Regions from separate parts of the Homo sapiens genome. Here all the other regions are linked to region 1. The links are contacts of gene promoters, found by promoter capture Hi-C in blood cells and fetal thymus (Javierre and others, 2016). All regions are on one chromosome and are shown on one strand. The core of a region is centred on a gene start or on the middle of the fragment in contact, and the rest is flanking DNA. Distances in the headings are between cores, read along the strand shown. Region 1 holds the start of MTCH1 (mitochondrial carrier 1). Region 2 overlaps TMEM217B (transmembrane protein 217B). Region 3 overlaps CPNE5 (copine 5). Region 4 has its middle 38 kb from the start of PIM1. Region 5 overlaps CPNE5 (copine 5). Region 6 overlaps CPNE5 (copine 5). Region 7 overlaps CPNE5 (copine 5).

Evidence for each region. The method cuts DNA at HindIII sites, captures the fragments that hold promoters and counts their contacts. A CHiCAGO score of 5 or more calls a contact.
Region 2: a contact is called between a fragment that was not itself captured here and the fragment with the promoter of MTCH1 in region 1, in 2 of 17 cell types (activated CD4 T cells and total CD8 T cells). The highest score is 6.0, in activated CD4 T cells.
Region 3: a contact is called between a fragment that was not itself captured here and the fragment with the promoter of MTCH1 in region 1, in 1 of 17 cell types (endothelial precursors). The highest score is 6.0, in endothelial precursors.
Region 4: a contact is called between a fragment that was not itself captured here and the fragment with the promoter of MTCH1 in region 1, in 16 of 17 cell types (naive CD8 T cells, megakaryocytes, fetal thymus and 13 more). The highest score is 12.1, in naive CD8 T cells.
Region 5: a contact is called between a fragment that was not itself captured here and the fragment with the promoter of MTCH1 in region 1, in 1 of 17 cell types (erythroblasts). The highest score is 5.1, in erythroblasts.
Region 6: a contact is called between a fragment that was not itself captured here and the fragment with the promoter of MTCH1 in region 1, in 1 of 17 cell types (endothelial precursors). The highest score is 5.3, in endothelial precursors.
Region 7: a contact is called between a fragment that was not itself captured here and the fragment with the promoter of MTCH1 in region 1, in 1 of 17 cell types (megakaryocytes). The highest score is 5.5, in megakaryocytes.

The regions. Positions count from the first base shown.
Region 1 is chr6:36,984,600-36,987,990 of GRCh38, forward strand. MTCH1 (mitochondrial carrier 1) reads right to left here and starts at 1,597. Exons shown (of 12, transcript NM_001271641.2): 1 at 1,254-1,597. The coding sequence starts at 1,574. RefSeq lists enhancers at 1,151-1,873, 1,992-2,201 and a silencer at 1,312-1,901. The HindIII fragment of the contact is 16,171 bases long and covers 12-3,391 here.
Region 2 is chr6:37,234,580-37,237,970 of GRCh38, forward strand. All of the region lies in intron 1 of TMEM217B (transmembrane protein 217B), which reads right to left. The region is part of intron 1 of TMEM217 (transmembrane protein 217); the gene reads right to left. Among named protein-coding and RNA genes, the nearest start is that of TBC1D22B, 21 kb to the right of the region's middle. The HindIII fragment of the contact is 2,392 bases long and covers 585-2,976 here.
Region 3 is chr6:36,753,851-36,757,241 of GRCh38, forward strand. CPNE5 (copine 5) reads right to left here. Exons shown (of 21, transcript NM_020939.2): 13 at 2,395-2,448. Among named protein-coding and RNA genes, the nearest start is that of RAB44, 58 kb to the left of the region's middle. RefSeq lists an enhancer at 1,512-2,711. The HindIII fragment of the contact is 2,254 bases long and covers 725-2,978 here.
Region 4 is chr6:37,206,498-37,209,888 of GRCh38, forward strand. No RefSeq gene overlaps it. Among named protein-coding and RNA genes, the nearest start is that of PIM1, 38 kb to the left of the region's middle. The HindIII fragment of the contact is 4,608 bases long and covers 1-3,391 here.
Region 5 is chr6:36,770,507-36,773,897 of GRCh38, forward strand. All of the region lies in intron 10 of CPNE5 (copine 5), which reads right to left. Among named protein-coding and RNA genes, the nearest start is that of CPNE5, 67 kb to the right of the region's middle. RefSeq lists an enhancer at 1,412-1,911. The HindIII fragment of the contact is 8,826 bases long and covers 1-3,391 here.
Region 6 is chr6:36,786,763-36,790,153 of GRCh38, forward strand. All of the region lies in intron 8 of CPNE5 (copine 5), which reads right to left. Among named protein-coding and RNA genes, the nearest start is that of CPNE5, 51 kb to the right of the region's middle. The HindIII fragment of the contact is 2,244 bases long and covers 479-2,722 here.
Region 7 is chr6:36,810,230-36,813,620 of GRCh38, forward strand. All of the region lies in intron 3 of CPNE5 (copine 5), which reads right to left. Among named protein-coding and RNA genes, the nearest start is that of CPNE5, 28 kb to the right of the region's middle. RefSeq lists a silencer at 795-963. The HindIII fragment of the contact is 1,664 bases long and covers 793-2,456 here.

The sequences.
Region 1 (3,391 bases), core at 347-2,846:
TCCTCCCCCCAAGCTTCTTAACTGGAAAATTCTGGCCTAATGACCCCCATCAAAACTGTACCCATCCCAGCCACACCCACCTAATTCTCACACCTCCACACGCCCTTCATTCCAGCTCACTCCTCAAGCAGCACACTTCATCTGTACCGCATTGCTGGCCACCACCAAATCTGCCAAGTGCCTATGCATCCCTCTGTTCCAGAGACATCCCTACCTCGGTCTCAATTTCTGGTAGTCCCTACCTATCCTGCCACCTATGTCTCCACTGTCCCTTCTGCCCAATTTCAATACTCCCGTGCCCCTTCTCCTCATCTGCCCAGATACAAGCACTGTGATTCCTCTCTCTGACCCCAACTATGACTTCCATTTCCTCCTCCAAATGCGTCATCCCCCTTCCCCGCTTAAAGCCTCCTCCTAGCTCCCCTCTCTAGACAAATCGCTGCCACTCCCCTCCCCCAATGCTGGCCCTATCTGTTCCCCTCCCCCCATACGCGTCACCCTGTCCCCTCCTCCTACCAAATCCGTCGTCGCCATCAAATCCAGAGCCCCCATCTCCGGTAAACCGATAGCATTCCCCTGCAAAAGTCTTTGCCTTCGCACTCTCCCACCAAATTAAATCACAATGCAACCCAAGACCTCCGTCTCCTCTGTCCACCCCCAGTCTGGTGTCCTTCTTTCCCTCCTAAATTTCTGGCCCTGGCGCCCACTTTGTCCCCACCCCAAGACGTTTTAAATCCATCTCTATCAAATCCAGAGCCTCCGTTCCCCTCTACCCCAATTATGTGCTCCTCATTCTCTAAACACTTTGCCTGGGCCCCCAACCTTCCTCCCCATCTCTTCACCCAAACTTCTTGCCCCTCCCCCAATTCTATTGCTTCTTCCCTCGCCCCAAATTCGCTCCCTTCCCTATCCCAAGTCCATCGTCCCCACTCCTTTATCTCCCAAATATGTTTTTCCAGCCCATCGCTCCCTCCTTGGCACTCCCCCAAATCGCTTGTTCCTTCCACCCTCTCCCGTATCTGTTATTACTCTAACCCCTTGGTCTCCTTTCTGTATCCTAAAACCCGTGACCCCTGCGTTCCCAACTCCCTCACGGCTTCCCTCCCATCCCACCCACTCGGCCCCCCAAACCCGCCGTCCCCACCCCTCTCCCCAAATCCGTCGCCATTGACTGCCCGCCCCAATCCTCCAAATCCTGGCCTGTCACCTTCACATCAGCCTCCCATCTCCCTACGGCGCCTCTGGTCCCCCACCTGGATGAGCAGCTTCACGTAGAGCAGGGGATGGCTGAGCGCCGTCACGCCCGCGCCCAGTGCCACGAAAAGAGCCTCAGTGGTCGGGGCGTTGTCCCCAGACCCCAGGCCCCCTGACCCGCCATCCATCCTGCGGGCCGAGGGCTGAGCCGCAGGCCGAGGGTGGCGAGGATGTGCGCGGTGCGCGGGCGGTGGATCGCGAGCTCGAGCCTCGACCCCCGCCGCCGCTCCGCCGCGAGCTCCGGCTCCAGCTCCGGCTCCCGCCATCCCCGCGGCACCGCCGCGAGCCCAGGGCGCCACTTCCGGGTCCGAAGCTCCCATGGCGCCCGGCGGCGAGGTCACTCCCCGTCACGTGACGGGGCCACGCCCCCTCACCGGCGTCAGGGGGCGGGGCCGGGGCGCACCACTCCAGGCCGCGGGGGAGCTCGGGAGCGTGGTGCGGCGGGTGGGACACGCCGGATGTGGCTCCCCGGCCGGTTGGAGGCCTAGCAGGACACTGGGCTGCGGGCCGGGGGTCAATGGTGGCGGGCAGCCGGGGCCCCGGGCTCGGGAGCTGTGGCGGCAGCCGCAGGCCGGGGCGCTCCCCCGGGATGCCCAGAGCACGCGGGGGCGGGGTTCGGCGCCTCTGGCTGCCAGACGTCCCCAATATGGTCTGAGGCGCTTCCAAGCCACCTCCCTGGCTTCGGGAGTTTTCTCTGCAGTTCTCTGCCCGCCCCTTTGCGGCCCAGATCCCAGTCGCCGCGGCCTGCGTGGAACTCTGCGCGAGCTGAATCTCCTGCTGCAGGACGAGCCCCGACCCCGAGCCCGATCCCCTCCGCGGTCCCAGCCTCTTTGTCCGATCGCATTTTCCATCTCCTCTGCCAGGAATGCTCTCCCAACCAGAGCAAATCCAGATGTCCCCTCGGCGACTGTGGGCACCCTCCCCAGCTGTGGAGCCTTCGCACGCCTTCCTCAGAGTCCGTGGTTGTAAAATTTGTTTTGCTCTAAAGTATTTGACTGTCTCCCTCACTAGATCCTGAGGGTTTTAGTGAGTGCCTCAGTGTGAGCACATGCAGGCACTGCTAGGCGCCTGTAGTTGATTCTTAGTTAATACAAGTGAATAATCACAACTAGACCTTAAATTGCAGGGACTATGTGACAGGCACTTTTTAAAATGCTTTATACGTGTTGATTTAAGTGTAATCGTCACAAGAACCCTGCGAGGAAGATAGGACAGCAAGTGCCCTGTTCCTGTTTGTAAACGTGCCCGACACTCTGCAACAACACCTACAACAGAACCGTGCTAGTTTTGGGGGTTCGCAATAAAAGTTTCTGTTTGAACGGATCCTAGAGTGTGCAGGGACACAGCAATGGAAGACCTGGTCCCTTTGTCTGTACTTAGTCTATAGCCAGTTCATTGTGAGAAATTTCTTTAGATCGACACCTGCCACTGTTAGTCCGGGTTTCCCAGTCTGTCCTTTCTAACTCCCTTCCTGCCTTACCCCCTAAAAAGCTACCTCCCCTCTTCCCACTCCTGATAATGAACACTATGTACTTTCCACGTTCAAAGCATGCCACACTCCCTCTCTCCCTCACCTTGGCCTCCCTAACCCAGGCTTGTCCTAGTGAAATCACTTGCAAAGCCTGCTAACCCTTTCAACTTGCTGTGTTTTCTCCATCAAACACAATTTTCATCAAACATCCCCCAGGAGCACCTTAAATGACTTCCTTTTGCCTAGGTTCTGATTTAGCTTTCTCAATAAGGACCTCAAAGTCAAGTTCCTAGTGCCACACTAACTCTCTACCCAGAAGAGGCGATAGGTTTTAGTTTGGGGGTGGGGGGTGGGGGTAGGGGAGGATGATTTACTTCCCCATCCTTCTGAAACTTCCTCACAGGAACCTTTTCCTTCTTTGGGCTTTTCGTCCCCATTTTTCTCCAACTGTCTGTTTTTCTTTCTGAACTTGGCTGTTCACCGTTGAGCCTTTTACTCTGCCTTACATGGTCACCTAACTTTGGGCCTATACTGTATTTGGCCCTTTCAAACTGTAGTTTCATGTGAAGCAGCAACTTTGTGTTGTCTTGCATTGTTTTGTATCTTCCACAACATCAGATATAGGACTATGCACATAGTACATGTTCAGTAAAGTATTTCTAAATG
Region 2 (3,391 bases), core at 531-3,030, 250 kb after region 1:
TCCACATCTGGCCAGATGTGGTGGCTTGTGTTTGTAGTCCCAGCTACTCAGGAGTCTGAGGCAAGAGAATTACTTGAACCTAGGAGGCAGAGGTTGCACTGAGCCGAGATGGTGCCACTGCACTCCAGCCTAGGCGACAGAGTGAGACTCCATCTCAAAAAAAAGAAAATAAAATAAATATCGGTATACACATGTAATTTTGAGATAAAGAGATAAATAGGAGGGGAAATAGAAGAACTGAAAGTGGTTACCTGTGAAAAGTATGAATAGGGATAGGGAAGGAAGAAAAGAGAAATGCTGGTTTTATTATAAGGTTTACATATTAATATTACACACCCATGCACAATTTTAATAAAAATAAATTTATGAAAATATAATTATTTCATGAATTCCTAATAAACCCAGATCATTAAATAAATCCCACTGGCTACCCTTATGCTGGTGTGGCTTTTTAAAAAACACAGTATCTTCTTAACTGCAAAATGGTTAAAGCTGGCAATGTGGAAGGACAGCTGGATAACTCTGTCATAGTCTAAACCATGAGCTAAAAACATTATCATGAGAAGTAGCTGGGGATAGAACAAAGCTTTTTTTACTTGTGAAAATTTCTGGAAATGATATATTACTTCAAATACTACACAATTGGAAGTGATTCCAATTCCATCTTGGAATGTTGGCAACATTTTAAATTGTTTTAAATTAAAGATATCTGTCTTAGACCATTTATGCTGCTATAACAGAACACCACAGACTGGGTAATATATAAAGAATACAAATGTATTTCTTTTATTATTATTTTTTTTTGAGACAGAGTCTTGCTCTGTCGCCCAGGCTAGAGTGCAGTGGTGCCATCTCGGCTCACTGCAAGCTCCGCCTCCCAGGTTCACGCCATTCTCCTGCCTCAGCCTCCTGAGTAGCTGGGACTACAGGCACCCGCCACCACGCCTGGCTAATTTTTTCTATTTTTTAGTAGAGATGGGGTTTCACCATGTTAGCCAGGATGGTCTCGATCTCCTGACCTTGTGATCCGTCCACCTTGGCCTCCCAAAGTGCTGGGATTACAGGCGTGAGCCACCACGCCTGGCCTAATGTATTTCTTATGGTTCTGGAGGCTGGAAAGTCCAAGATCAAGGCACTGGCATTAGTGTCTGGTGAGGACTGCTCTCTGCTTCCAAGATGACGCCTTGTTGCTGTGTCCTCACAGGGAGGAAAGTAGAAGGGCAAGGGGACCTAAACTAGTTCCCTCTAGTCCTTTTATAAAGCACTAACCCATTTTGAAGGAACCCTCATGACTTAATCCCTTCCCCAAAGTCCCTATCTCTTAATACCACCACTATGGGGATTAAGTTTCAACACATGAATTTTGGAGGGGTCAAACACATTCAAACCACAGCAATATCTTTATGTAGAGTTTAAAATATTCATACTAGAAAAATAAAGCTAGATAAATAAAAAATCATTACCATAACAAAACATTGTAAAATAAAGCTGATTTTTATCCTTTCATCCCACTTTAACATCATCGTGTTTGAACTGAAAAAAGTGTGTAGTGTTTATTTTATTTTTAATTTAAAAACAATTTAAAAAAACAGAGACATGGTCTCACTATGTTGCCCAGGCTGGTCTTGAACTCCTGGGCTCAAGTGATTCTCCCACCTCTGCCTCCCACGAGTGCTAGGATTACAGGCATGAGCCACTGTGCCTGGCCATTTATTTTTAAATACTCTTTGTTTTTTAGGCCCTGAACTAAGCATTTATCATTTGCCAATCTGCAGCTCAGTTTAACCCTTTCTGAGTGGGTTATTTTTAGAGTATGAGCATGTGTATTTTTTTGGTGGTAGCATTGCCCTCCCAGGTTCAATCCTGGGGTGGGAGAGTAAGCTAATTAGTTGTGTTCTGAGTAACCAAGGATATCCTGAAAATGCAAGGGAATAATAGGCCATTATAGGGAGGGTATCAAGGTTGAGATCCGCAAATTTGCAAGTCAAATGCCCAGGCTTCAATCTTGGCTTCACCATTTACTGTGAATTTATTCTCTCCAAGTCTCAGTTTGCTCATCTTTAAATTGGATGTGCCAGTACTATTTTTTTTTTTACTAATTTTATTAATTTCTATAACAAATTACCCCAAAACTTAGTAGCATAAGATAACCATTTATTATGTGAATGGATTCTGTGGGTGAGGACTTCAGACAGAGCACAGTTAGCTTAATTTTGTACATTGTGGGGAATTTAGACAGGGCATGTCCAGGATGACTTGCTACTTCTCCTCAAACTTTGTAGCCTCTCCTAGAAGACTCACTCAGATGCCTGGCGATTGCTCTTGGCTGTCAGTTGGAGGCCTCAGTGCCCATCCATGTGGGCTTCTCCATGGTCTCTCTGTGTGGGCTCCTTTGGGCTCCTTCACAGCCTGATGACTGGCTTCTCCAGAATGAGTGTCCCAAAAAGAGCAAGCCAGATGGAAGCTGTATCACCTTTTCTTATTCTAGCCTCAGAAGTCCCATAGCAACACGTTTCCTGGACACTATTCTTTAGAAGTGAGTCACCAAGGCCATATTCAAGGGGAGAGGAATTAGATTCTACCTTTTGTGGGAGAAGTGTTAAAGAATTTGCCAAGATGTAGGGACTTCTGAGTATCTGAGTGTTCACAATCAAAGTTCCCGCATTTGCCAGGTTGCCCAGGGAAACAAAAGTCATCATGACAAGAAAATATTCACAAGTGAATTGACATTCTCTGCCTCCCTCAGTCCTGCAACATTCCTCCTTGCTGAAATGAAGGGCTCTCTGTGTGCACCAAGACCCCATCAAGTCAAAATCTTTATTGGTCAGCCTCTCTCTGGTAGCCCACTGTAAATATCTGACAACACACAACACAAGGCAAGTCGTTTGCAAGAAATTATTGCAAGTCTTGCAGAAGATTCAGGACTTCATGCAGACATTAAAAAGGATATTGGAAAACTGCTAGAATCATATGCAAAGCTTGAATGTAACAGAATTAGACCAGTTAATAACCAGAAAAGAGAAAATCAATAAGAATGTTATAGGCACTTCAGTAAAGAATGGTTTCAGGATGAATAAACTGCTACATATTTGCACAATGGGAGTGTTAAACAGGAGTCAAAAGGAACAACTGTAGCAACATACAACAATATGGTAGAATCTTAACAATGTAATATCAAGTGAAAAAAGTACTAAAGACATACAGTTAAAAACAACCATCTTTCTCTATATATATACACACACACTACACACACATATTTTTAGGACTTTATATAGATGCAAGAAAACTCTAAAACTGTATGAAAAGCAAAGTGAAGGATAATGAGCTCAGAATTCTGGATGATGATCACCTTGGCCAGGGGAGGAAGTAAAATGTGTTGGGGGTACCATAC
Region 3 (3,391 bases), core at 602-3,101, 230 kb before region 1:
TATGAGACAAGATTAGGGCAGAGGACCTTTCACCTGTGTAAGAGAACGAACTCCTCTCTGGTAGTTTGGGAGCCCCCTATTCATGAAGATTCAGCTGTTTTTACAGGCTCATTGGGAGGGCCAGGTGAGAGCACCACCCTTACTTGGCAGTAAGACCCCCAGCTATTGTGGTTAAGGTATTAGGCACCTGGATGAACCACAGGCCTCCTTCCAAGTGTGGCAGCTCAGACTTACTAGGAACCACGGCAGTGGCTTCAACCCTGACTGATGACCATGAGATGCCCTGGGGGCTCTTAGATCATCCTGCAGCCCAGACCCATTATAGCCGAGTTTCCGGGGCTACATGAATGTTTCAGAGATCTTCTTTTTTTTTTTTTTTTTTAGCTCTTCACGTAAGTCTAATCTGCAGACACAGTTGACCACTCCCCATTCCAACCCCCAGGATGAAGCAATGCCCTAACTGCCCTGACCATATGGGTTCACCCAGGGGCTCGCAGGGTGAAAGCAGACTTTCCCCTATTCAAAGGGTAGTGTCCCTAGACCAGAGCGTCAGCATCACCTCGATGCCAGGTAGAAATGCAGAAATGCAGATTCTTGGCATTTTCACAAGATCCCCAGGGGATTCTGCACACCATAAGTAAGGGATGAAAAGCACTAAACACAGATTCCTGGGCCTCCTAAAGTGGAATCCCAGGGAACTGGCCTGGGCGTCTGTATTTCAGCAAGCTTTCTGCATCCCGGGTGATTTTTCGCGATGAAGATGGGGAAATGCTGGAGTAAAAGGAAAGTCAAGAGACCTGGGCCTAGGCCCGCTCTGTCTCCAGCTCACTGTGTGACCTGGGACAAATCGCATGCCCTCTCTAGGCCACAGTTTCTTCGTCTCTAAAGTAAGAAGGCTGGATGAGATCAGTGGTTTTTGAACCTTTTTATTCCCAGCTGGGGAAGGTGCTGTCTTCCCTAGGGGAATTTAGGAAGGCGTGGGAGAATTTTGGGGGTTCTCATAATGACTGGGGCTCTACTGGTAGCTATGGGCAGCAGCCAGGGGTGCTAAACATCCTGTGAGATGAAGAATTTTCCTGCCCAAATGCTGACAGCCTCTCCACTAAGAAACACCGCAGCCTTGGACAAAGGAAATATGACTCCAAGCCCCAGTCTGTGAAGCAGTTACAATCAAAGAAGTGGTGTTCAGTCCCCTTTGAATGAGCAGAGTAATTTTACAGTTCACAAGCCTGCATCTCCCATGTGTCTGTCACAGCTGCCCTGTGCAGTGGCAAGGTGGGGATGATTTATTAGTCCTACTTTACAGACGGAGAAAATGAGGCTTCTCAGAGGAACCCCAGAGCTCCTGAAAACCTCTTCTAGGTCTGGAGATACAGTCTGCCTGACTCAAATGACCAGGCTTGGCTGCACTAGCCATGGGCCTCTAGAGTGAGGAAGGAACACAGAGAGGATGAATCTGGGTGTGTTTGCACTGCAGAGAAAGTGGCTTGTTCTAGAAATGCACTGTGAGCTCCACCTCAGGGCCTTTGCATGTGCTGTTCTCTACAGCAGGAATGCTGGAATTCCCTTTCCCCAGTATCCTCAATACTTCCTCCATTGCCTGTCCCTTTACCCTTTATACTTTTTCCATAGCTCTCATAATCAACTGACACACACAGGCATGTGTGTGTGTGTGTGTGTGTTTTTTTTTTTTCTCTGTCTCCTCCCACTAGAATATAAGCACCAGGGATTTGGGTCTGTCTTGTTTCCAGCTGTATCTGATGTGCCTAGAATAGTGCCTGGCACACAGTAGCACTCAGTAAGTATTTGCTGAAGAAGCGTATGAATGTCCTCAAGACCAGCCCCGAGAAGCCACTAGGCCGGCGTGTCATCCCAGGAAGGTCACGGTTAAGCAGGGGCAGCGCCCGTAGCAGCTGCCAGCTCTGGAGTGAGATGTCATGTTGAGTCCCATCTCTACCACTTTCTAGCTGTGTGACCTTGGCTGAGTCACTTTCCTGCTTGCAGCCTTGGTTTCCTCTTTCATGACTAGGGGATGATAATATCTGCCTCTCAGGGCAACAACCTGTGAAAAGCACCAACGTGGGGAATTTCCCAGGGTAGGGGCCCAATAAATACGACTTCTCTTCCTCTTCCTTCCTGCAGGAAGTCCCGTGGATGTCTCTGCGATTCCTCATGCTAGATACAGCCAGCGCCTGTTGTGTGGTCTGCAAGTCAACTCTCTCCCCTGGCTGTTGCTCCATCTGCCCCACCCCTCCCCACCCCATCTCTCTTGGATGTCTGATTCCCACGCTCAGCCCCTGCACACACACAGACGCACGGGCCTCCCTGATACCAGACCTAGCTTGGGGCTCAGAATGTCTACACCCGGCTGCAGAGACCGGGGTGGCTACTCACTGTGCCAGAATTCACGTATTTCTTTTTCTTCATTTTCTTTTTCGGGTTTACCACCTGCAGGAAAAACCAGTTACCAGGTAAGGCATGCTTCCAGGCAGTCAGGGTGAGTCTTGAGGGCTTCCAACCACCCATGGGTGTGGTCCAAGCCCAGCCCCATTAGAGTGTGGGGTGTGAAGACCACGGGGCCAGGGGAGAAGGGTTTAAGGAGGATTTGTGGGAGACTGGTATTGAGTCTGGGTTACACAACTGGGTTCTCCCATCAGACCCAGGGTCCCACGATCAACCGGGAATATTTATTTAACCTTCTCTCCCACTGTTCCCCGGAACACACGCACCCTCCACCCAGTATAGCCAAAGAAGTCTTGATGTTGCAAAGCGGCCCTATCTGTACCTGTCCCTTGTGTTGGTTGAGGCTGCTCCCCTCACCAAAAATGCACCCCCTTCCTCTCTCAGCCAATTCCAATCTCCCCTGTTCCTCCTTTGGGACCCAGCCCAAGGGCTGCCCAGGGCCTCTGAGGCTCCCCTCTCCATCACCATCCCTCTTACTTGGCAGCAAGAACCTCTTTAGCTATTCTTTGAGTGTAAGCTTTAACTTCCAAACCAGACCTGTGTCAGATAAATCATGGGGCTAGGCTCAGAGTAGGTGCTCAGAGAAGGCTTGTTGGTGGCTAACTCAGCGGTCTCAACCAGGGGCGATTTTACCCCCAGGAACGTTTGGTAACATCTGGAGACGGTTTTGGTTTCCACAACTGAGGGGGTGAGTAGAGGCCAGGCATGCTGCTAAACATCCTACAGTACACAAGACAGCCTCCCACGGCAGGGAGTGATGCAGTCCCAAATCCCAGTAGTGCCAAGGCCAAGACTGGGCAAAGTGACGAGAGCCACCCAGCCCTGAGGCCCCCCACGAGACTTCCGCACTTACTGTATTTGTATTCTCATTTGACCCTCGCCAGTTTTTCTTTGTTTTGTTTTTAATAAGGGAAGTCTAGGCACAACT
Region 4 (3,391 bases), core at 555-3,054, 220 kb after region 1:
TCAAATGATCTGCCCGAACTCAAAGTGCTGGGATTACAGGCTTGGCATGAGCCACCGCGCCCGGCCTAATTTTTAAATTTTTTGTAGAGATGAAGTCTTACTGTATTGCCCAGGCTGGTCTTGAACACCTGGGCTCAAGCCATCCTCCCGCCTCAGCTTCCCAAAGTGCTAGGATTACAGGCGTGAGCCACTGCACCCAGCCTTCTTCCCCTCCTTTCTAAGGGCTAAATCATGCTATCTTCCAGGACTCGGCTTAAAGGTTTTCTCCTCCAGGAAGACTTCCCTGACTCTCCACCTCCAAGGCCCCCTCCTGCGGCCCCCAGTGCTTCCTCTAGCACCTATCGTCCTGGGTCCAGATAGCCTAAGTGGCTTGGCCCCTCGCTAGGCTGGGAGCCCCTTGGAATGTGGGCTGTGTCTTGCTTCCCCAGGTATTCCTCAATTCCTAATTCACGGTCTGCAACACAGTAATAAACTGTATGAAGAAAAGTAGGACGGAAGGCTGGGGGATCTTCACGGACTGAAAGTGTCAGGGGTGGGTGACAGCCCTTAAGAGTGTTGCTCTTCCCGGGGACACCTGCACTGTTAGAAAGACTTGTTTTCCACTTGGTGAGATGGAGCTGGGAGATGAGGTGGTGATTCTAGTGGCAGCAGTTGGTGTAAGGGAACAGGACTGGGAAAGGAGGAAAGGAATAAGGGGCTGAAATCGTATCCTTTGTCGGTATTTTCCTACCTGTGTCTAGATTCTTCACCAGAGACTGCAGAATTGAATGAGAGAAGAAAGGAGTAGGAACAGGAGGCTGAAAGAACAGTAATAATTTGCCTCTCATAGGCCGGGCGTGGCGACTCATGCCTGTAATCTCAACACTTTGGGCAGATCACCTGAGGTCAGGAGTTCAAGACCAGCCTGGCCAACTTGGTGAAACCCCATCTCTACTAAAAATACAAAAATTAGCCCAGAGTGGTGGTGGGCACCTGTAGTCCCAGCTACTCAGGTGGATGAGGTAGGAGAATCGCTTGAACTCAGGAGGCGGAGGTTGCACTAAGCCACAATGGTGCCACTGCACTTCAGCCTGGGCGACAGAGACTCTGTCTCCAAAACAAAAACAAAACTGAGAGTCTATGTCCATTCATTCCACAAATCTTTATCAAGCACCTGCTACATGCTGGGCATTGAACTAGGTGCTGGGAAAACATCAGTGAAGTAAATATGGTGCCCACATTTTTGGAGGGTGGTGGGAGAGGCAACTGTATAGAGTAAGTCAGGTGATAGTACATGTTATGAAGAAATGTAGCACAGTAAGTGGGAAAGAGACACATGGGATGGTAGGGAGGGGCTGTTTCACACCCATTGGTAGGGAAGGCCTCTCTGATGCCTTCTGAGCAAGAAAGGAAGCTGGTGAATAGCTGGAGTAAGAATATTCTAGGCGGAAGGCACAGTGAGTGCAAAGGCCCCGAGGCTGGAGTGTGCTGTCTGTGTTAGGGTGAACGAAAGGAAGACAGCATGGCTGCAGCAGAGGGAGGCGGAGAGAACAAAATGGTTAGAAAGCAGATCAGAGGGTGACAAGGGACTGGGTTATTTAGCAGCTGGCATGCCGTGGTAAAGACTTGGGATTTCTACCCTGAGTGTGGTGGGGAGCCCTGGCAGGTGAGGACCGGAGTAGAGGAGGGACTTGATCTGACTCAGGTTTCAACAGGAGCCCTCTGGTGGCTGGGCGGAGAACTGACTGTAAAGGGAACACAGTGGCATGGGGAGGCCAGTCAGGAACTGCTACTGCAATAGCCTGGGCAAGAGATGGTGATGGCCTGGGCCAGGGAGGTGGCAGGGGAGGTTATATGAAGTGGTTGGATATGGATCTATATTGAAGGGTGGGCTGATGGGGAGTGGTGAGGAGTTAGATTCAGGCTGAGAGAAAGAGAGGACCTAAGGATGCCTGCTGGGTCTTTAACTTGAGCAATGGAAGGGTAGAGGTGGCAAAGACTGGGGGTTAGGGCAAGGTATACGGGAGAAAATCAGGAGTGTGGATTGGGATACACTCCCCAATTTTTATTTATTTATTTATTTATTTATTTATTTATTTGAGATGGAGTTTTGCTCTTGTTGCCCAGGCTGCAGTATAGTGGCGCGATCTCAGCTCACTGCAACCTCCACCTCCCAGGTTCAAGCAATTCTCCTGCCTCAGCCTCCTGAGTAACTGGGATTACAGGCACCTGCTACCATGCCCGGTTAATTTTTGTATTTTTAGTAGAGAGGAGGTTTCACCATGTTGGCCAGACTGGTCTTGAACTCCTGACCTCAGGTGATCCACCCGCCTCAGCCTCCCAAAGTGCTGTCATTACAGGCGTGAGCTACCATGCCCGGCTACATTCCCACATTTTAAGAAAATTAAAAAAAAAAATTTTTTTACATCAGTTGGATGCGGTGGCACACCTGTATTCCCAGCTACTCAGGAGGCTGAGGTGGGAGGATCGCTTGAGCCTGGAAGTTCAAGGCTCCAGTGAGCTATGATTGCACGACTGCATTCCAGCCTGGGTGACAGAGTGCAACCCTGTCTCTAAAAATCAAATAAAAGTAGAGACATCCTGAGTGAGACCCTGAGAGAATCTGAGTCAGAGAACCAGGTGAGCTGTGTCTGGACTCCTGACCGCAGAAACTAAGACAGAATAAATGTACTGTCTTAAGCTGCTAATTTTGGGGTAATTTGTTATGCAGTAATAGATAACTAGTACATGTCACATCTCTACAAAAATGTCTCTACAACAGTAACCACCCCAAAACATATCCTGACTGGGTATGGTGGCTCATGCCTATAATCTCAGCACTCTGGGAAGCCAAGGTGGGAGGATAGCCTGAGGCCAGGAGTTCAAGACCAGCCTGGGCAACATAGGGAGACCCCATATTGTATTTAAAAAAAAAAAAAAGAGTTGTGTAGGGGAGGATCTGCTTCCAAGCTCCCTCATGGGGCTGTTGGTAGGATTCCGTTCCTCACGGGCTCTTGGTTAGTGACCTCTGCTCCTGGCAGTGTGAGCCTTTCCATAAAGATACTTTCAACATGATAGCCAGCTTCCCTCAGAGAGCGGGCAGCACTGACGTCATCGTCTTCTGTAACCTAACCTTAGAAAGGACAACCCATCGCTTTTGCTATGTTCTCTTTGCTAGAAGAGGATCACTGGGTCCTGCCCACATCTAAGAAGAGGTGATGAATGTGAATATCAGTTCGCAGAGATCTCTGGGAACCATGTTAGAGCTGGCTACCACATCAAGGAAGCAACTGCATAAACAAAGCCAGGGTTTAGGGGAGAAGTCCAGGCTGAAGATGTATATGGGGCTTATTAGTGATGGGTCTGGACCAGGTGAGCTGGGAGTGAGTGAGACAGAGAACAAGACCAAGGA
Region 5 (3,391 bases), core at 555-3,054, 210 kb before region 1:
TCTCATCAGGCCCGGGTTCTCATCCTCCTGTACCTCTTCTCACAATAGGAGGGAATGATCCCTGACCGTGCCGCCCTCCTCTTAGTTCCCTCCTATCCCTCTGACCATCTCCTCTTCTTTCTTGCTCCTGGCCTCTGGCATCACCCACAGGGCCTCTCAGGGCACCAGATCTCTGGCCACCCCCCTCCTGGAGACCCTAGACTGCTGTCCCCTCCTGCTTTAGCGGTGCCTGGTCCACAGCTGCCTCCTCTCAATGTGGCTGAAACCAAGTTTACCTCTCTTTCCCCAACCTCTCAACAGCAGCAGCTCGTTTTCAAACAACAAACATAATCTTTATAACTTAAGAAGGATAATTTTTTTAAAAATGGGTTTCAGATAGGCTGTGAAAAGAACTGCGGAACACAAATCTGTGAGTAAGAATCTGGCTGCCGATCACACTGCCCATTTCTGTCGGTGGTGCCACCTTTTCCTGCCCTCAAACGCTGAACCATTATCCCTTCCCCTCTTTCACTCCCTTACCCAGGCAGGTACCAAGGCCTTTTGGGTCTTCCTCTTCCTTCTTGCTGTTCCCCTCTCCTCTCCCCTCTGAATTATTTGGTATTAAAGCCAGAAGGACGTTAATGCTTTGAGGACTAAAACCAATCCAAGCAGCTTCCCTACCTCTAATCAGAAAGCAGAACTGCCCCTAACCCCTGAGCAAGGTGCTCATTAGTAAGCCTCCCCCAGATGCACCCTGGTCACAGCCCTGTCATGCCATGTCTTGGCTATCTGGCAACAGTGCATAGGGATTAACAACACAGAATCTAGAGCCAGGCTGCCGGGGTCCACATCCTGGTTCTACCACCGGCTGGCAGCAAGACACTGGGCAAGTGACTTAATCTCTCAGGGCCTCTCTGTCTCCTTACCTGTAAAATGTGGCTAGCATCAGCACCTCTTTGCAATGAGCTAATTGTTGGGGGGATTAAATTAGTTCCTATACATAAAGCACTTAGAGCAGGGCCTGGCCCATGGTTAAGTGCTATAGGAGTCTTTGCTATTATCATGACCTGTCTGTCTCCCCACTGGCCTGGGAGCAACCTAAGAGGGAGGCTTGGGTCAATAGGCCCCCACAGCACCCAACACAGTGCCTGGGGCCTGACTGGCTTGGAAGACACGGCTGCTGAATTAAATCAACTACGTTCTGTGAGGCTCCAAGAGGTGTCTTGGAAGGAGGGGACAGTGGCCCCATTTTCCTGCACAGGGCCCTCCCCTGCCTACCCTGGAGGGCCTTCTGATACTGGCACCTCCTGAGTGTCTGTTGGGTGCGTGGGTTACACTGGGGCTGGGGGGCGGGGGGATAGGCCTGATCGTTCTTGGAGCCAGAGTGACATCCCTGGCCTCCTTGATTAACACTACTGTCAGTCACATTATGGAAGATCTGCTTCTGGACATGGGGGAGGGCCATCCTGCAGCGAGATGAGGCTAGGCTCTGCCTCAGAGTGGGAGGTGGGAGCCTGCCCCTCCCACCAAATAAATACCCACCTCCTCCAACGGCCCAGTGGTGAAGCCAGGCCTCCGAGCCCTGCTGCCCCTTTCACTGTCCCTGACAAAGCTGGCTCCTGCAACCCTGGGAGCTCCTCTCTAGAGATACAGGGTTGTGAGGGGTCAGTTGGGCCAGGGATCCCCAATTCCTTCTGCCCTGTGAGACTTTAACTGCCATACTCTCCCATCCCCCTACCTTGAATTTCCTCTCACTTTGTTTCCATCTCCCTTTATTCCCGTGCCCCTGTCCCCAGGATCCTCCACCCCTGACTTTCCAGCCTTTCCTGGGCCTTCTTTAGAACTCACTGCTCCAACCAGCCCGTCCTCTCACTGCTCCAACCAGCCTGTCCTCTCATCCCCTCACCCACTCTAGAAGCCCCAGGAGCCAGCTAGATGTGTAACAGAGGCTTGTTTGACTGCAGCGCTAAGACCGTCTTTGTTCCCAGTCTTATTTTGTGCACTTATTTATCTGTCTAAAATACATGTGCACATCTGTGCTGCCTGTGGTCAGACCACAGTCTCCCTAAAGATGGGAAGGCGACCCTGTTCGTTTAAATCCGCACAGCTAGAGGCGCCACGCTGGGACACAGGAGGCACTCAGTGACCACCTGTGGAACAGACTGTGGCTCTTCTGTCCCAGCCAAGAGGCAGGAAAAAGAACAAGCTCATGTCTCAAACTGGCAGCCTGGGGGTTTCTTCGGAGTGTAACAGGGGTGCCTGGAGGCCATTCATCTGCTGATCATCCCCTCAACATGCCTTTTCAGGCTCCCAGCTGCCCCAAGGTGTCTGGTTTTGTTTGTTTGTTTTCTTTTTTGTCTTTAAGGTTTTCTTTTTTTTTTCTTGAGACAGCATCCCAAGCTGGAGTGCAGTGGTGCAATCATAGCTCATTGCAGCCTTGAACTCCTGGGCTCACGTGATCCTTTTGCCTCAGCCACCTGAGTAGCTGGGTCCACAGATGTGCGCCACTATACCCAGATAATTTTTTTTAATGTTTTAATTTTTTTAAATTTAGTTTTAAATTTTTAAATTTTTTTTTGTAAAGATGGGGGTCTCACTATGTTACGCGGGCTGGTCTTGAACTCCTGGATTCAAGCCCATCTCAGCCTCCCAAAGTGTTGGGATTACAGGCGTGAGCCACCACGCCTGACCCCAGGTGTCTGTTTCGACACCCCAGTGCTCCTGTCGGAGTGGCCCAGAGGCCCAGCTTTCTTAGCTGTCCAGAGAGCCCTGCCCATGAGCCCCCTACCACCTCACCCACCTGAGCTGCAGCAATCACCAGGAGACAGGGATGGGTTCTCCTGACTCAACAGAAACCAACACAGTCTCACAGCTCCCATTTTGGGTGGTGGCCCCACTCGCTCTCTCGGCGCTTGCTACAATGTATAATTACATGTTTCCTTGTGTGATTATTGGATTAATGTCTGCCTCCCCTACTGGCATGTAAACACCACTAGGTTGGGTGAAGGGTGAAGACTGCACCCTGCTGATTTCCCAGCATCTAGCACAGTGCCTGGTACATGACAGGGGTTCCCTAAACATTTGTGGATGAGATGCTGAATTTGGTATTTTAGGCACAACAGAGCCTCGTTGTGTAGGTTGTGTCGTGTGAGCGTCAATGCAGTCCTGTAGAGTAGGCAGACATTTTAATACCCATTTTACAGATAAGGAAACTCAGGCTCAGACAGGTCAAGGATTGCCCAGGTTGACAGTGCTTTTTGGTCACAGAGTCAGAATTAGCAACCAGGTATCTGGTATCTACACTCAACAATCTACACTCAAATGATGATGAAGATGATAGCCAACATGTAATAAGAGTAGGCATATGTTAAAACAAAAAATCTAGCCTGGGCAACATGGTGAAACCCCATGT
Region 6 (3,391 bases), core at 351-2,850, 200 kb before region 1:
ATACTATATTATATCAATTATAAGAAAAATTACGTACATGGACACTCAGCAAGAAAGCCTTGGAGGAAGCACATCAAAATGTCAACAGTGATTATCTCTGGGTGACTTTTCCATGCTGTTTATATTTTTCTGTATTTTCCAATTTGTCCATAATGAATATGTTATTTTTTTTTAGCATCAGGAAGAAATGCTTTTGCTTTGTTTTGGCTTTTTAAAAGCCAGATAGATTATTTCTAAGACCAAAAAAATTCAAACTAACCTTAAGAAGGGTGATGTTTGAATGCTGGTTACACGGGATGCTCATATCGGTCTCAGCCACAACACACGACTCTCCTATGTATCAACCTGCATACTTCCGAGTCTCAGAGAACCTTCACCACCTCCCCCACTTACTTTGACTCTTCCTTCTCATCTCTCTTTCTCCATGGCTCTTCCTTCTTCCCTCATCTTTCAGGTAGAGAAACTGGCCTCTCCCTGAAGCTTATCTTTGGAAAAACAAAAGTTTTGATTGTGTTGGGATCCAGGCTGCTAAGTTCCCCAGCTATGAGGTCCCACACAATCTGGCCCCAACTCCCACCATCACCACCCACAGTCTCATCTTTCCGATTCCTCATCCATCACTCCTGCCCCAGGGCCTTTGCACTGGCTGTTCTGTCTGCTTGGACCAATATTCCCCAGGTAACTGGAAGGGTTCATTCTCCCACCTGTCTATATATATTGGCATATTACATAGTATCTACACATTTTCCTTCGGGATAGTCAAGAGTGTGATAAAATAGTTGTTGTAAGAAGAGGCGCTGGATCTGCCAGGGCTGAGGACCACTGCTCTCATGTGATTGCCGGTTGGCATTTCCATCTCTCATACTAAATTAAAAATTCTGGGACAGCAGGGACTCAGTCAAAGCATATTTCCTGAACTGAAATGAAAGAATACATGAGCACGCTGGTGACACCTAAGGGGTGGGGAGGCCCCCGGGGCAGTTATGGTGTGAAGTTATAACTCCCTTTGCAGGAGAGAGATGAGGCACACCCTTCTTCCTCCATCACTGCCTCCTCCATGACCACCGCCACCATCCTGGCTGGGACGGCCAGTCAGGTGGAAGGACCTGACTAGGAGGTGGTAAAGACGTACTATCCTGAGCCGGGAAGTCCTGACTCCAGAGCAAGGCAGGTCTGGGTGGCTGACAGGTCTCTAGGGGGAACCAAGGGGCTGGGAAGTGGAGGGCAAAGAGCTATCCAACCCTCTGTATTGACAACAACCCCTACCTTTTCTTTTTTTTTTTTTTTTGACAGGGTCTCACTCTGTTCCCCAGGCTTCAGTGCACTGGTGCAATCATGGTTCACTGCAGCTTTGACCTCCCAAGCTCAAGTGACCCTCCTACCCCAGCCTCCTGATTAGCTGGGACCACAGGCGTGCACCACCACACCCTGCTAATTTAAAAAAATTTTTTTGTAGAGATGGTCGGGGGGGGGTCTCACTATGATGTCCAGGCTGGTCTCGAACTCCTGAGCTCAAGCTATTCTCCTGCCTTGCTCAGCCTCGCAAAGTGCTGGGATTATAGGCGTGAACCCCAACCTCCACTGCTCAAAGCCACCCTGCCTGCTGAGGGCAGTAGCCCCACAAGGGACAGAAGGTCGGTGACTGTTCCCTGTACCGTGAGGGCTCGAGGCTCCAGGGGTGAGGGAAAGACTGAGGATTAGGAGTTCCAAGGCCTGAGCTAGAATCCCAGCAATCTTAGGCAGACCACTAACTTCTCTGCATCCGTAAAACAGGGTTACTCACACCCACCCAGCCCCCCAGCCTTGCAGTCAGAATCAAATAAGACTAAATAAGAGGGTCTCGGTAAACCAATGTTGGCCAGTATTACAGGCAGTAACAATCGTTTTACTGCTGTATTACAGGCAGTAACAATCGTTTTACTGCTGAGCAGAATTGAACCTTGGGTGATTCAGAAGGCCCTTCGGGAGACCAACCTCATGACTGTCAACATCAAGTACCATTCGATAGTATTTGGATCAAATTCTGATTGTGGGAACTTCTTTGACATTTAAATTCCAGATGAACAAGGCTTTTCTATAACCTGTCAAACTATGCTGGTGACACACTGGAGTCCACTGTCATCCTTTGCTGGTTCCCACCCGCCCACGTCATCCCCATGGATGAAGAGAGGGTTTGTCTACTTCGGCAAAATGTATTCATTTGAGCAGGAAGCCCTGCTCTGGTGAAAAATCATCTCTCAGACCCCACCCTCTTCCTTTGATCCTCCCACTGAATGCTGAGCTGGAAAGACGAAGCAAAGCTGTTCAGATGTAATTATTTTAATTCAGCCAGATGCTGGGAATTAGTCTCTTTTCCTTGCAAGGATTCTAGGGAGAGACAGAACTCAGCTAAAGATGCCCCAGAAGAAAAGGAGCTGACAATCTCAGGAGGAAGGGAGGGCGCTCCCTGCCCCCGACATAGACCCCTGGTGCTGGAACAGCTTAAATCAAGAAAACTGCTGCTATCCCTGGGTGAAGGAGTAGGGAGGACTGGGGAAGAAGGAGGAAGAGGAAGGGTTTAACACCTGATAGGTATTCAACCTAAGACTGCTTACCAACCCCTGGAATGCTAGACCAGTAACGGCCACCAGCATTGTCTAGAGCGTTAGAATTTCCAAAGCGCTTTCATGTATGTGACTTTATTTGGTTATAAACTAGGAAGAAAGTCACCAGCTGGGCTAGAAGCTTGGGGAAACACTGAATTTAGGTTCAAGGAATTCAGATGCACCCTTTCCTAGGCATCTGTTAGACACACTCACATTCATGAACTCCTTTAATCCTCACAGCAACCCTATCAGCGCCAAGCTGCAGGTGGAAAACGGAGGCTCTGGGAGCTGCAACAGCTCTGTTCCACAGGGCAACCGAATTCTCTCCCTTGTCTGAACTCCAGTGGCATCCAGATCCTCAGCAGACACGTGTGTTTTGTCCATGACCTGGTGCTGAACACTCGGTCTGTGCTTCCTAATCATTCAGTCACATATTCGTGATGGGTCCTCGGGAATGCCTACTGCACCCCGAGTCCTGCCCTGGGGGTGCACACTGGGTGGGGTTCATTCCCGCTGTCAAGTGCCTTCAGATCCACTGAGATTAACAGATAAGCAACCCGGGTGAGCAGTCACATATGAATTTTTTTGGTCATCTCTAGACTGCCCTGTACTATCGATTCTGTGTTCGTGTGTCTTATTCTTCCACTGGAAGTCCTTGGAAACAGAGTTTGTAACACCACAGTCCAGTGGTTAAAGACCTTGGCTCTAGAACCAAACTGCCAAGTTTCAAATCTCTTCTACTCAGTGGCTGTGTGACCTTGGACCGATCAATTAACCTCTCTGTGCTTCAGTTTCCTTATCTATAA
Region 7 (3,391 bases), core at 375-2,874, 170 kb before region 1:
GGAGCCATCCCCCAGCTGCAAAGCCCCCAGGGGCTGTGCCGGTGGGATAGGAGGCTGGAGCTGACAGACTGCTGTCTACCTCACAAGCTGCTCACCCTTCCCCAGCCGTAGATCCCTCAATACTTTTCATATATTATTGATGGCTCCTTAATTGGGGATTCTAAAAGCCTCGCTGCAGAGCCCAGCCCTGGCCCCTCATGAATCATGTTCACTAGGATTAAAATTAGAGGCCAGAAAGCTACCTGACTCAAATAGAAACGGAAAAAGGGAATGTGCTTTCCAAGGCTGGCCCTGGGAATAGGAGCCAGGTGGGGGCGCCCAGTGGCTGGGAAGAGTGGCCTGAGATCTGGGGACAGGAAAGGAGGGCCTGGGGAGGCGGAGGAGCACGGAGGATCTGGCCATGCCAGGCCTGCACCATCTTGGGTCTGGAAAGTTCTCTCTGGTTCTGTCACTGAAGGAGTCCAGAATTCTGTGGCCACCCCTCCTCGTTGCAGTGAGGAAAACCAGGCCCAGAGAGAGATGGGGCTTGCCTAAAATTACAGGGAGTGAGCCATGACCTTGGCACCTTTCGTTTCGTAGGCCTGGTGACCTCCCAAATGGCTGCCTGTTTTGTTAAGGCTTCCAGGTAAGGCAGGGCAGAGGTGGAGACAGGGGCCCTGAGTTAGGGAAGCCCAGGCTCTAAAGGCCTCCCTGTTCTCAAGCCTGGTCAGAGAAGCCTCCCTATCTCGCCCAGAGACCAGGGTCAGGGTATGAAACTTTACCAAGCTTAGAATGAAAGACTTCCTGCCAAAAAGCTTAGTTCCTAATTAGCCATTGTTTCAGATAATCTGTTCAATCATCCCAGCTCCTCGGGGAACGGGGAACGACCCTTTACCAATGAGCCTGGCTGCCAAGCTGCCAACAAAACACTCTCCACCACCTTGTCCCCACCCCCAGCCTTCTAGCCCCGGGTCTGACTGTAGAGGGTGGGGGGCCTGAGCAGTCCCCACCCTAAAGGAAGCCAAGCATCATGGAGGGGGCCCTGGGACTTGTCCCCCAGCTCACTCCAAAACATCGATAGCTCCTGCCAAATGGCATCACGATGTCTGAAATGATACTGTCAATGGTTCCTTCCTCCAGATAAAGCATTGGTTTCTTACTTAGGGCTTCTTATAAGAAGAGCCATTATTGAGCTTTTTCTGCAGGCCAGGCACTTTACACGAATTAGCTTATTTACTCCTCACAGTAGGCTTGTGAGCCTAAGTGCTTGGCCAAGATCCCCCACCTGGGCAGGTGGTGGGCCCATTTTTAAACTTGACTTTGGAGTGCACACTTTCAACAGCTCAGCCACAACTGTAGAGTGCACCTGGACACTAACACTGAAAAGCAAATAGATCTATCAGCCACCAGGGGACCTGGCCTAGAACTCAGGGTTTATTAGAAAAGCCAACTCCTTTCTTCAAATGAAATCTCAGGCTCATGTCTAATGTATTACACAGAAATAATGAACACCTCTGCTTGAAGGAGGAAAGGGAGGCAGGGGCTACACACATATTCACGGTGGATCCTGGAGCTGCCACCCTCAAATCCTGGGGATAGAAAAGCACACTTTGGGCTGGGCGCAGTGGCTCATGACTGTAATCCCAGCACTTTGGGAGGCCGAGGTGGGCGGATCTCCTGAGCTCAGGAATTTGAGACCAGCCTGGCCAACATGGTGAAACCCCATCTCTACGAAAAATACAAAAATTAGCTGGGGGTGGTGGCATATGCCTGTAATCCTAGTTACTCGGGAGGCTGAGGCAGGAGAATTGCTTGGACCCAGGAGGTGGAGGTTGCAGTGAGCCGAGATTGTGTCACCACACTCCAGCCTGGGCGACAGAGTGAGACTCCGTCTCAAAAACAAACAAACAAGAAAAGCCCACTTTGAAAGTCAGTGGCCTGGGCAGAGGAGAAGACCAGGGACTCCGACTCGGAAAACCACATTCACATCCCAGCTCTGCCACTTCCTAGCTGTGTTGCTGGGCAAAGCCAGGATCCCTCTGAGCTCTGCTTCCTCATCTGGGTGTGGTGAGGGCCAAGGGAGATAATGGGGTGCTGCTGATGTGGAGACTGTACAGGGTAGAAGGCATATCAGTCACCCTCTTATTTAAGGAGGGGAAGGAAAGGGATAGAGCCTCTTTACAGCTTGCCTGATGGTACTGTTTAATAATAAAAAGAATATTTACAGGTCCTGAGCACAGGCAGGCACTGCTAAGTGATTCTGCCATGTGGTCCCTACCACAGTCCACTAAGCAGGCATTGGGAACCCATTTTATTGATGAAAAAAACTAAGGCTCAGAGAGAGGTTAAGGAAAGTGGCAAAGTCAGGATTCAAAGGGACATCCCAGACAGCACCTCACTGTGTCAAAGCAGGTTTTAAAGCCCTGACCCTAAGACTGTGAGTAGGTGGCCATAGACCCATCTAGTCCCTAAAGTAAAGCTTTGGTCCTGGACTGCCTAACCCTGATCACGGGGAGTCAGAGCCCTGAAAATTCAGCTGCATGACAAGAGCAAAGGCCACTAAAGGCTTTCCAAGTGACCTAAGGCTCAGGAGGGACCTCTCTTTGCAGAGGCAGACTTCTCTGCAAAAAGGAGAGAGTCCAGAAAGCCTACCCCAAGCTTGCCTTGGAGTCCACCTCTTAGAGAGGCCTGCCTTCCGCTTTGTGCCTTAGCAATGCTGATGGTCCACTCATTCCTTTGTATCTTTAGATAATGGTCTATGTGGAATGACCAAGGCCAGGTCACCAGGGATCCTAAATTGGGCTCAAGGCCAGGCAGGCAGAGGGTTATTTCTTTTCAGATTTAAACTCTTGGCATTGAACGAACTGGATCCCCTGTGTTCATGCCCACCACAGTCTTATTCCAAAACCTCCACAAGACTGCAAATTATCTTCCTGCTTCTGCCCTTTCCCCTGCAGTCCACTCTGCACACAGTGGCCAGGGCTGTCTTTCTGAAACATAAACCAGGTTGCATCACTCCCCTGCTTAAAACCCTTAAATAGGCCAGGTGTGGTGGCCCACGCCTGTAATCCCAGCATTTTGGGAGGTTTAGGAGGGAGGATCACCTGAGGTCAGGAGTTCAAGACCAGCCTGCTCAACATGGTGAAACTCTGCCTCTACTAAAAATACAAAAATTAGCCAGGCATGGTGGCGCATGCCTGTAGTCCCAGCTACTTGGGAGGGTGAGGCAGGAGAATCACTTGAACCCGGGAGGCAGAGGTTTCAGTGAGCTGAGATCGAGCCATTGCACTCCAGCCTGGGCAATGGAGCAAGACTCCATCTCAAACAAAACAAAATAAAACCCTCAAGTAGCTTAGCATCACACTTAGATCAGTATCAGAACTCTTTATATGGCCTCTGAAGCCCTACAGGA